Regions from separate parts of the Homo sapiens genome. Here region 2 is linked to region 1. The links are contacts of gene promoters, found by promoter capture Hi-C in blood cells and fetal thymus (Javierre and others, 2016). All regions are on one chromosome and are shown on one strand. Each heading gives the region's core, a stretch centred on a gene start or on the middle of the fragment in contact. The rest is flanking DNA. Distances are from core to core; before and after follow the strand shown. Region 1 holds the start of ITGB8 (integrin subunit beta 8). Region 2 has its middle 23 kb from the start of ABCB5.

Region 1 (5,126 bases), core at 2,627-5,126:
GCTAGCTCTGTAGCATGCTTCGAGGAAAATTAATCTGTGAGATGTTCTCTCATACAGGTTTCTTCCTTTGGAGAATCTAATGGCATGCTGCTCTATTGAGTTTCCGGAAATTCCTCTAGTAAGGGATTTAATTTGACTTTAATTCAGCATTTCCCAAGCTTAATCATGGAAGTCTTGTTTCAGAAAACATTAATATCTCACAGATTGAGTCATCCATAAACTATCTTGGCAAGAGACACTGGCTCCAGCAGTTCATTTTTCTTTGAATTTGCACCTGACACTGATCTCTGTTATTAAACACTCATGAGGCCTTTAAGGAGTCTCTGTATTAACCCATTAAAGTAGGAAGTTCTTAAACTTCAGAGCATATAAAAACCATTTGAGGACCTTGGTATAATGCAGATTGCTGAGCACCATACAAGATCTACTAATTCAGAATCTCCTGGAATAGAGACAAGGAATTAGAACTCAGAATTACTCTATGGGGGATTGTGTTGTATGCAGTCTTCAGTCTACAGTATGAGAAACACTGTCTTATGTAACAATTCAGTGAAAAATACCTTCAAGCAATTTATGTACTTTATCATTAGAAGAAGCTAGAGGTCATAGTCACAATAATATATCTCACTGGTCTGACCATTAATCATCTTCTGAGATGTCTCAGGCAAGCTTATAGATAACTTGTGAATACCCACCCAAAACGTACTGAATGGCTCTGATCCCAACTTCAAAAAGATGTAACATTAAAATTCAAATGTGTCTGTAGGTGCCACTATGAGATCAATAATTTGGGCACATCTAGTTAAAGTGTGAATAGCCACAGCTGTATGTGGTGTCTTACACCTATAATCCCAGCTACACAGAAGGCTGAGGTGGGAGGATAGCTTGAGTTCAAACTTGAACCAGGAGTTCAAGGCCAGTTTGGGCAACATAGTGAGATAGCAAGATTCCATTTCTTAAAAAACAGTCTGAGTGTCTCCCTCACTCCTGCTACCTATCTATAGCTTATTCATTCTCACCATAAACTCACTTAGTGAGAAATCAAGGTTAAAGGAGTAGGGAAGAAATTTAAGTAATTTAATTTTATGACTTTTTAGTAACTCAGCTCAAAGACTCTAATGATAGGAAGCCTGGAATGAATAACTAAAATGTTATTTTTAGACTATCTGTGAATTTCATTTCCTCTCATTACCACAAATGATGAAAAATTAGCTGTCAGAAATTTCAAAGCAATATAGCAGAACATGATGGAAAAACAAATTAATCAAGTCACCATCTTCCGAAACATTTTTCCTTTATTAGAATTCTTCAGGTAATATGACGAAGATAACAATACTGCATTTCTTTAAAATATGCTGTACATTTCCTCATAGGAAAAAGGGTGAGTTATGGTGACCAGTGACATTAACTGGAAACAAGCAAACTTTTGGTTCCTGGGCCACTAGTTGTATTTACTTTAAGAAAACCCTAAAGATGATTTGCAGTCTTTCAGAGAGTTTACTTTTATGTTTACAGCCCAAAATGTGCAGATAACTTGTTTGTAAATAACTGGCAGGGGTCACAGTGTCACATCTAGGAGATTTCATTTTATTTTATTTCGACAACCAGAGTTACAGCCTCTTTACAACTGAGAAGTGGTAATAAATGGTATTGTGCTTATTCTTCAACAACTCCATAGCACTGGCACCTGACATATATTTGCATGAATTTCATGTAACAAAATGTAGAAATCTTTCTTTCTAAAGGGCTTCAAAATTTCCCGAAACAGACTTCTGAACTTCATTTTATTCCTCTTGCTACATGGTTGTTCTGGATTAGTATATATATCAACACCTAAAAACAGAGTTACAAAAATTAGTGCATACCTCATCAATTTCATAAAGTTACATCCTTTCTTGTTTGCATACATTTATATTTTATTTATTACTGTAACTGCCACTTACAACCCAGCAACAAAGAGTTGTATTTTAGAATATTATGGAATGGTGATATGATAGACACTTTAAAGTGTATTGACATGTCCTTATGGGAATTAGGGATTTAATTTTTTTTTTTTTTGATTGAAGCACTGCATGTCTCAAGGGTGGCTGCATTCAGTAGGTCTGTGACATAACCCCTGGAAAATACCCAGGCTGCCCAATGGAAGAGTCACTAATCAGATATTGAATATGATATTTTTGTGTTCAAATTTTCAAGTCCTCACACCCATCCTAACTAATTTTTAGGCCTTTCCTTTAAGACAACCAAAAAACAAAACTATAACTGTTCAAACTTGGAACTAAGGAAAGGAAATAAATATTAAAGCGGAGCTGGATTTATTTCTATTTATTTAGAGTACATCACCTCCAGTAGAATTATGTTGCTAAGGTTGGGATCACGGCTTTGGTCTCGCGAAGGGACCTGCTTTGCAGATCCAGGGCTCGTTTAATTTTCCAGCTGGGTTCCTGCTTTGCTTAACTAATCCTGTGCACCCCGTTGTGCGGTCCACACCTGAAAGGGGGAGTTTCGATGTTGTGGTTTATTAACCAGGTACTTTCCATTCACTCAGTCAACAGAAAGAAAGAGAGAGACCGCGCCTCCTACTTTTTTTTTTTTTTTTTTTTTAACTACAAATAAGGAGACGGAAACTATTAAATAAGAAGGGGGGAAACTCCCGCATATTTCACCTTGACCTGGCTGGACTGGTCTGCTGCCTCTAAGAGGCGGGTGTTGTATTAAAATGAGAGGTCAAACTCCTCGAATGGGAATCGCTCCTGCCCCTAGAGGGAAAAGAGAACCATCACCGTGTTAAACTGGAAACACTGCCTTGTTTCCAATGCGGGGGACTGAGTTCCCTCCCTCGACTTAGCGTGGTAATGACAGGACCCGAGGAGGCGCGCTGCTTCCGGGCAGTTGCCCAGCATAACACCCGCACCCTACTTGCACCTAAATTTCTGAGCTGCAAGCAGGCAGAAGTGCCTTCCACTTTCTCTCCTTAGCTCCCCTCTCCCCGCTTTGCTGCTGTCTGTAACTTTTTGTTCCGTTTACTGGGAAGGTGACGCTTAAGATCAAAAGACCCACTGTAACTTGCAAAAGCCCAGAGCCACCACCAGACGCTGGGGAAAAACAGGGCTGTCCAGTCCAGGGTTAAGGTTTTGAGCAGAGAAGGAGCAGCGAGAAATCTCGGCCAGTCGCTCCGGGAACAGCCCCTGCAGACTGGTCCAACTCTCCAAAGGCTAGGGACACCGGGGCAGCCTTGTGGTGGGGTAGAGGACGAGCTCCTAACTGCAAGCAAAGTGCTGAGTAGAGGGCGTTGGGGGCAGGGGAGGTCCCTTGACTCCACTTTGTATGCAGCAGCTGCGGGGCAGTGAGTATCTCCGAACAAAGCGGCGAGCAGCGCGGGGGTGAGAGATTGGGGTTTGCTCGCAGCTGCCGCTGGCGCTGAGCGAGTCTCCCACCACCCCCGCGAGCGTTGGGGTGCAAGGATTCGGGGGAGGAGGGAGAAGGGAACGAGGCGTGCCATTCCTGTTGCGCGGCTACGCTTCAGGAGTTCTTGTGAACGATGGGAATGGCAACTATCAGAGCCAAGGGGGAAAAGAAAGAGCTGGAGTGAGCAAAACAAAGAGCGAGTGTGGGCCGCGGTGACTTCATGCCTCACCAATGTCCCGCCCACGCTGCTCCGAGCTGTTACTGCTGCTCCTGCCCGGGCTGCAGCCGCGCCTGCGGGCAGCCGAGGCGAGGCGCTCCGGTAGCGTGGGGAGGTTTCCTAGCAACTCTCTGCCCTGAGTGCACCCGGCTACCCGCAGGTCTGGAGCCCCCCGGGGGGCCAGAGCAGGACCACCCCTCTCCCGCCCATCGCCGGCCTCGCCTCTCTCGCATCCTAGCCGTGTGCACCCCAGAGCGCGCCAGCAACTCGGGCTCTGGACTGCGGGACGCCTGAGCCGCGCACTGAGGCGAAAAGGACAAGGGCACGCAGCCCCCGCCCCGCGAAGCCGGGCTCCGGCACCTCGCGGAACCTCCCCTCCTGCGCTCGCAGCCGCAGGCCCCACTCCCCGCCAGGGAGGGAGCGGCGATGCCTCGCTCTGTGCCTGCGGGTGTCGGCGGGTGCTTCTAGGGCGCTCCCAGAGCCGCCTCCCCCTGTTGCTGGCATCCCGAGCTTCCTCCCTTGCCAGCCAGGACGCTGCCGACTTGTCTTTGCCCGCTGCTCCGCAGACGGGGCTGCAAAGCTGCAACTAATGGTGTTGGCCTCCCTGCCCACCTGTGGAAGCAACTGCGCTGATTGATGCGCCACAGACTTTTTTCCCCTCGACCTCGCCGGCGTCCCCTCCCACAGATCCAGCATCACCCAGTGAATGTACATTAGGGTGGTTTCCCCCCCAGCTTCGGGCTTTGTTTGGGTTTGATTGTGTTTGGCTCTTCGCTAAGCTGATTTATGCAGCAGAAGCCCCACCGGCTGGAGAGAAACAAAAGCTCTTTTCTTTGTCCCGGAGCAGGCTGCGGAGCCCTTGCAGAGCCCTCTCTCCAGTCGCCGCCGGGGCCCTTGGCCGTCGAAGGAGGTGCTTCTCGCGGAGACCGCGGGACCCGCCGTGCCGAGCCGGGAGGGCCGCAGGGGCCCTGAGATGCCGAGCGGTGCCCGGGCCCGCTTACCTGCACCGCTTGCTCCGAGCCGCGGGGTCCGCCTGCTAGGCCTGCGGAAAACGTCCTAGCGACACTCGGCCCGCGGGCCCCGAGGTGCGCCCGGGAGGCGCGAGCCCGCGTCCGGAAGGCAGTCAGGCGGCGGGCGCGGGGCGGGCTGTTTTGCATTATGTGCGGCTCGGCCCTGGCTTTTTTTACCGCTGCATTTGTCTGCCTGCAAAACGACCGGCGAGGTCCCGCCTCGTTCCTCTGGGCAGCCTGGGTGTTTTCACTTGTTCTTGGACTGGGCCAAGGTGGTAAGTTGTTTTGTTTTGTTTTGTTTTCTTCTCTTCCCCAAAGGTCTTGGGCTGGCACGAAGAGCTGCCCGGCCAGAGCATCCCGGCCAGGTAAGTTGCGGTCATCAGAGAACTTCAAGGGGGCGGGTGCGGGGCAGCGTCCTCCAGCACAGATGGCCTAGAGGCCAGGTGTCAAGCATTTCTGCCCTGGAGCGACAGCAAGGACTAATTATCAGA
Region 2 (5,005 bases), core at 1,845-4,344, 260 kb after region 1:
TTCTATAGAAGAGGCAAAAAACAGAGCTGACTAGTGGAATGTTATCTATGTGGAAACATCTCCTAAAACATGAGCTAATGTTCACAAGGTATTTTTTGACTTAATGAGAGAAATTCGAGTGAGAAAGATGGAAGGTGACAAAGAGTGGAAAAAGAAGAGGAAAAGTTTAGCCAAGACAATCAGAGAAAGATGCTGCATTTTACAATCAAATCCCAAACTCCTTTCTTATCTCGACTATACTAATAAATATAATTTATAAGCATTGCCACTGAAGGCTCAATTGACTGAAATTACTTTAACATTTTGGAAATTGTTGTATATCACTGAAAGCATGAATTGCAACTGCAATGAAATTCAAATTTACTTAAAAAAGAAATTAATATGGCTTCACCAAGGAGCAAAGTTCAACTTATTTAGTAATTGCCAACAATTATCATGGTCCTGAATGTAGCATGGGAGCTTGTGTTTCTGAGGCAGTCTTTCTTGAAATATTAAAGAAGCGAGATGGGGGTGAGGAGAGGGAGGAAAGAGGACTTCCTCTGGTGTTTTATTATAAAGCTTACATTTTATATCATATTAAAATATCTTGGTCTTCTACTGTCTTGAAAAATGACAATTGTGAACATGATAGTTAAACTGTACCACTTTTTAAAACCATTGTTATGCAAAATTTAGAAGAAAAAGTTATTGGCATGGTTGTTGTATATAGTTAAACTGAGAGTAATTCATCTGTGAATCTGCTTTAATTACCCGGTGATTAAAGTAGTGTAAACTTGTACATGGAAATTTTTGAATATGCCTTAATTTAGAAACAGAAAAATACCCGGTTATATCATTCTGGGTATGTTCTTACTGACACCAGGGGTCCACTGCCTCATGTGTCCTGGTGAGAAAATATATGCCCAGCATGGAGTACAGCTTTGGTATAGAAGATTCTTGAGAAGTAACTGCCTGCTAGGAGCCTGTCCAAATTTAAAATGTGTGCCACACTCTGGTTCTTGAAAATAAGATTCCAGAGCTCTTTGATCACTTTTAATAAACTTCAAGTTCATTTAAAATGAAGGGCCAGCATATACTTGTAAGATAATTTTCAGCTGCAAGGATTCAGCACCAGTTATGTTTGAATGAACCCTCTTTTTCTTTAAGATGCTGGTCCCTGGAAATCACTTTCTGCCAGTGGTGAGCATGTAAGTGTTAAGTTTTTGATCTCCTGGGAGTAGGGCACAGGAAGAAAATGTCAATAATGCTAATGCATTTTGCACTGTTGAATGAAGAACACTGTAGCTTCACTTTCAGGAGTTAACATCAAGCAGTCAGACCTGGGTACTGTGCAGAAAACATGTTTGGCACACACTGACCAAACATCAGGCTGTGTCACCGTTGTGTGGTGTTCCTGCCGGAAGAATTCTAGCACGCTATTTGGGGACATAATTTCAGTGGGAAATATGCCACTGTCCGATTTTTTTTTCCTCTTTGCAGTGGAACTAGGACAGTTGATTCAACGGAGTATTTTTTTTCCTTTTGCTCAGTCCTGATTTAAACAGGTCAAAGATGTGTTCAGGCATTCCAGGAAACAGGTGTGTGTGTAAAGTTAAAAATAGACTTTCTAGGAACTCACTCATTAGATATTACATCCAGTTTCTCTGTTAAATATTTGTCATTAAAGGGTTTGAGAGGTACATCTTTCATTTTGTATTTCTCATAGGCTATGTCATGTGCAGAATTCAAGTTACCAGTGTAACACTGGCCAGCGGGCCCAGCAATCTCCACGTGTACTCATTACAGTCTTGTTTAACCAGAGGTCCTAACCACTAACATTGTGACTTTGCTTTGAGACCTCTCCTTTCCTGGGTACTGAGGTGCTATGAAGCCAAATGACAAAGATGCATCATGTGTCTTAGGCTGATGCCACTACCCGATTTGTTTAGTTGCAATTTGAGCCATTTAAAGACCAATAAACTTCTCTTTAAAATATATATATATTTAAATTAAATAATATATATGTGATTTACACCCACAAGAGTAGAGCAAGTAATAAGTATACTTTATACAAACAGCCAAAAAAAATAATAGTTAAAACCGTACATTTTAGTCACTTCAAAATATTTACGGGCCAGGCACAGTGACTCATGCCTGTAATCCCAGCACTTTGGGAGACCAAGGGCGGGTGGATCACCTGAGGTCGGGAGTTCAAGACCAGCCTGACCAACATGGCAAAACCCCACCTCTACTAAAAACACAAAATTAGCCGGGCGTGGTGGCGCGTGCCTGTAATCCCAGCTACTCAGGAGGCTGAGGCAGGAGAATTGCTTGAACCAGGGAGGCAGAGGCTGCAGTGAGCTGAGATTGAGCCATTGCACTCCAGTCTGCACAACAAAGAGTGAAACTCCATCTCAAAAAAATATGTATATACATATATAGAGATAGATATAGATATAGATATGTATGTGTGTATCTAGATAGATAGATACATACATACATACATACATACATACATAGATTACATAGCTTTTATTGTTCCAGGCACTGTTTTAAGAGCTTTTATAAAAAAGTAACTGATTACTCTCATAAAATATTTTGTGAGTTAGATGCTAACGCTAATATGATCCTTTTTCACAGATGAAAAGGAAACAGAGAAGTTAAGTAACTTGCCCCAAGTGACACGGTAAGCAGTGACAAAGCCAGAGTTAGAACTTATCAATCTCATTCTAGAGTCTGTTTGATGCTCTGCCTTCTTTCTAATAATCCTTTATTATTGATTAGAAAATTACAAATTTACATCTTCTTATCAGAATTTAGATCTGCAGAGTTTAGCACAATCAAGTTAAATGTGTTAGAATGAGATCATGTTTTCTGCAGGGATGTGGGTGGAGCTGGAGGCCAATATCTTAGCAAACTAACACAGGAGCAGAAAACCAAACACCACAGGTTCTCACTTTTAGGTGGGAGCTGAATGATGAGAACACATGGACACAGGGAGGGGAACAACACACACTGGGGCCTATGGGAGGATAGAGGGTGGAAGGAGAGCGAGAATCAGGAAAAATAACTATTGGGTGCTAGGCTTAGTACCTGGGTGATGAAATAATCCATACAACAAACCCCCATGACACAGTTTACCTATGTAACAAACCTGCACTTGTACCCCTGAACTCAAAAGTTTAAAAAAGAGAAATAATAGCCACAAAAGAAAACTCACAATGGCAAAAGCTCAATCAGCACAGTTTGATATGAACTATGATTTAATAATTGCCAGAATTTCCAGTAATTTCCACCAAAAAAGTTGATGGCAGTGAAAACAACTTCTGAAAACTAAAATTAAAAATTTTTAAAAATTAAGGGACAAAAAGATGCCATGCAAAATAGTTATTAAAGAGTGAAACAGGTTTCATGGAGTTTGCTTTTAGATACCAGCCAAGATGGACTCAGTAATGGTATGGTAACAGATAGCAACCACACTTTAGTCTTTCTGTGATTTGAAGTGAAAAGCTCATTGATTTTTATTGAAAGTCTCAACAGAAGGCAATGCTACAGACATGTAGCATGAATGTCATTGTTTGTGGTGTCAAGCATCTCATATTTCACTGGCCACAGCAAGTCACATGACCAGGTCTCCCTTTAGGTAAGTTGTGCCATGCCCTGAATACTCAGAAATAGGAGAGCCACTTATTAGCAAGCAGTTAGTTCAATCAAAATTCATCAGCATGTGGTTCCCAGATAAATATACAAAATTAGCGCTTTGATTACAAGGAAGACAGAGCAGCAGGAAACGTCTGTAGGGCAGCCAACCAACATTTTCTGCCACCATAAATGTTGGCAATAATAAACTTCATGACAAAGCCAGCATTCATTAAGAGCTCAGAAAATGCCAGGCACTGTGCTTCTTATATGTTTTCTTATTTAATTCCCAAGTCCTACAAGGGAAGCACATTATTGCCTATGTTACAGAAAGGAAAACTGAAGAACGAAGATTAAAATACTTTTGCAGATCTGGTAAATGTTGAAGCTAAGACAAGAACCTAAGCAGTCCGATTAATACCCCTCTTAGAACTACTCCCTCATTGTGCTTCCCTTCTGAATTGCACGATTCAGAGCATAAAGCACTTTATCTCTGGATATTGCAGGCTTTGCAAGAGTATTCATCTGTGGATCTTGAGTGCAAAATAAAATTTGACCCTGGTGGTTTAGCTATAACTGGAAAGGACAACTTCCATGACATTTTCTCGTAAAGCCCGTTGCCAACATCATCGAGAACAGCATGTGCTCTTCCAGATTACAGTGATAAGAAGGTTGATGTTGCTGAGAGCCGCAAGTCCTGATGAAGCAGCACTTCTCTAGGAGAGGGACGTTTCCGCTGGCCTCCGCTGAATCCTGTGCATTGGCTTCTTAGGGAGGAACTGGCTGAAACTGCTGGAAAACCACATCCATGGGATTCATGCTGTTGGAAAGGCTGTCAACAGGAAATGGTCAACAAATTGCCCTAAACCCGTGGAGCTTGCAGAGGGGCATTGCTGCCATTCTGTCTGCACATAGCCATGCTGTCTACTCACTTGAAGACTATAAGACCCCTTCCATTCTAAGGCAGGAGTAATTGAAGAAAAAGGGAATCTCTACCTAAATAAGTTGTATTCAAATTATTCATCTATACCTGGGAATTTACGCCAATCATACCAAAATAAAATATAGCTAGTACAACGTCTGGTGTCTGCTGAGCTGTAAATCTCTTCAACAGGTGCTTGTTGTTATGGGCTGGGAGACACTGATGATAATGCCCTTGAACCATCAACCCCCTCCAACATACACACACACACACACACACACACACACACACACACACCGTCTTCCTTATCTTGCCCTAGGTTTTTTTCAAATCAATTGGATCTCTTTCAACACTCTACACCCCCCTTGGATGCTTTTTTTCATCCTTGGGGTACACAAGGGCTCTGTGAGGAGGCCCTTGGGGCTTTTAGTCCAGGCTCTTCATCATTCCGTGGCTGGTCTGCTA

What was found. The method cuts DNA at HindIII sites, captures the fragments that hold promoters and counts their contacts. A CHiCAGO score of 5 or more calls a contact.
Region 2: a contact is called between a fragment that was not itself captured here and the fragment with the promoter of ITGB8 in region 1, in 4 of 17 cell types (monocytes, M0 macrophages, M1 macrophages and 1 more). The highest score is 9.9, in monocytes.

Annotation. Positions count from the first base shown.
Region 1 is chr7:20,327,024-20,332,149 of GRCh38, forward strand. It overlaps ITGB8 (integrin subunit beta 8), which reads left to right and starts at 3,877. Exons shown (of 14, transcript NM_002214.3): 1 at 3,877-4,910. The coding sequence starts at 4,784. It overlaps ITGB8-AS1 (ITGB8 antisense RNA 1), which reads right to left and starts at 4,739. Exons shown (of 3, transcript NR_110120.1): 1 at 4,627-4,739; 2 at 2,344-2,490; 3 at 1,278-1,833. RefSeq lists enhancers at 2,498-3,110, 3,198-3,267, 3,368-3,657 and silencers at 3,738-4,127, 4,598-4,837. The HindIII fragment of the contact is 8,395 bases long and covers 668-5,126 here.
Region 2 is chr7:20,589,888-20,594,892 of GRCh38, forward strand. It overlaps the pseudogene LOC402641. Among named protein-coding and RNA genes, the nearest start is that of ABCB5, 23 kb to the right of the region's middle. The HindIII fragment of the contact is 5,077 bases long and covers 557-5,005 here.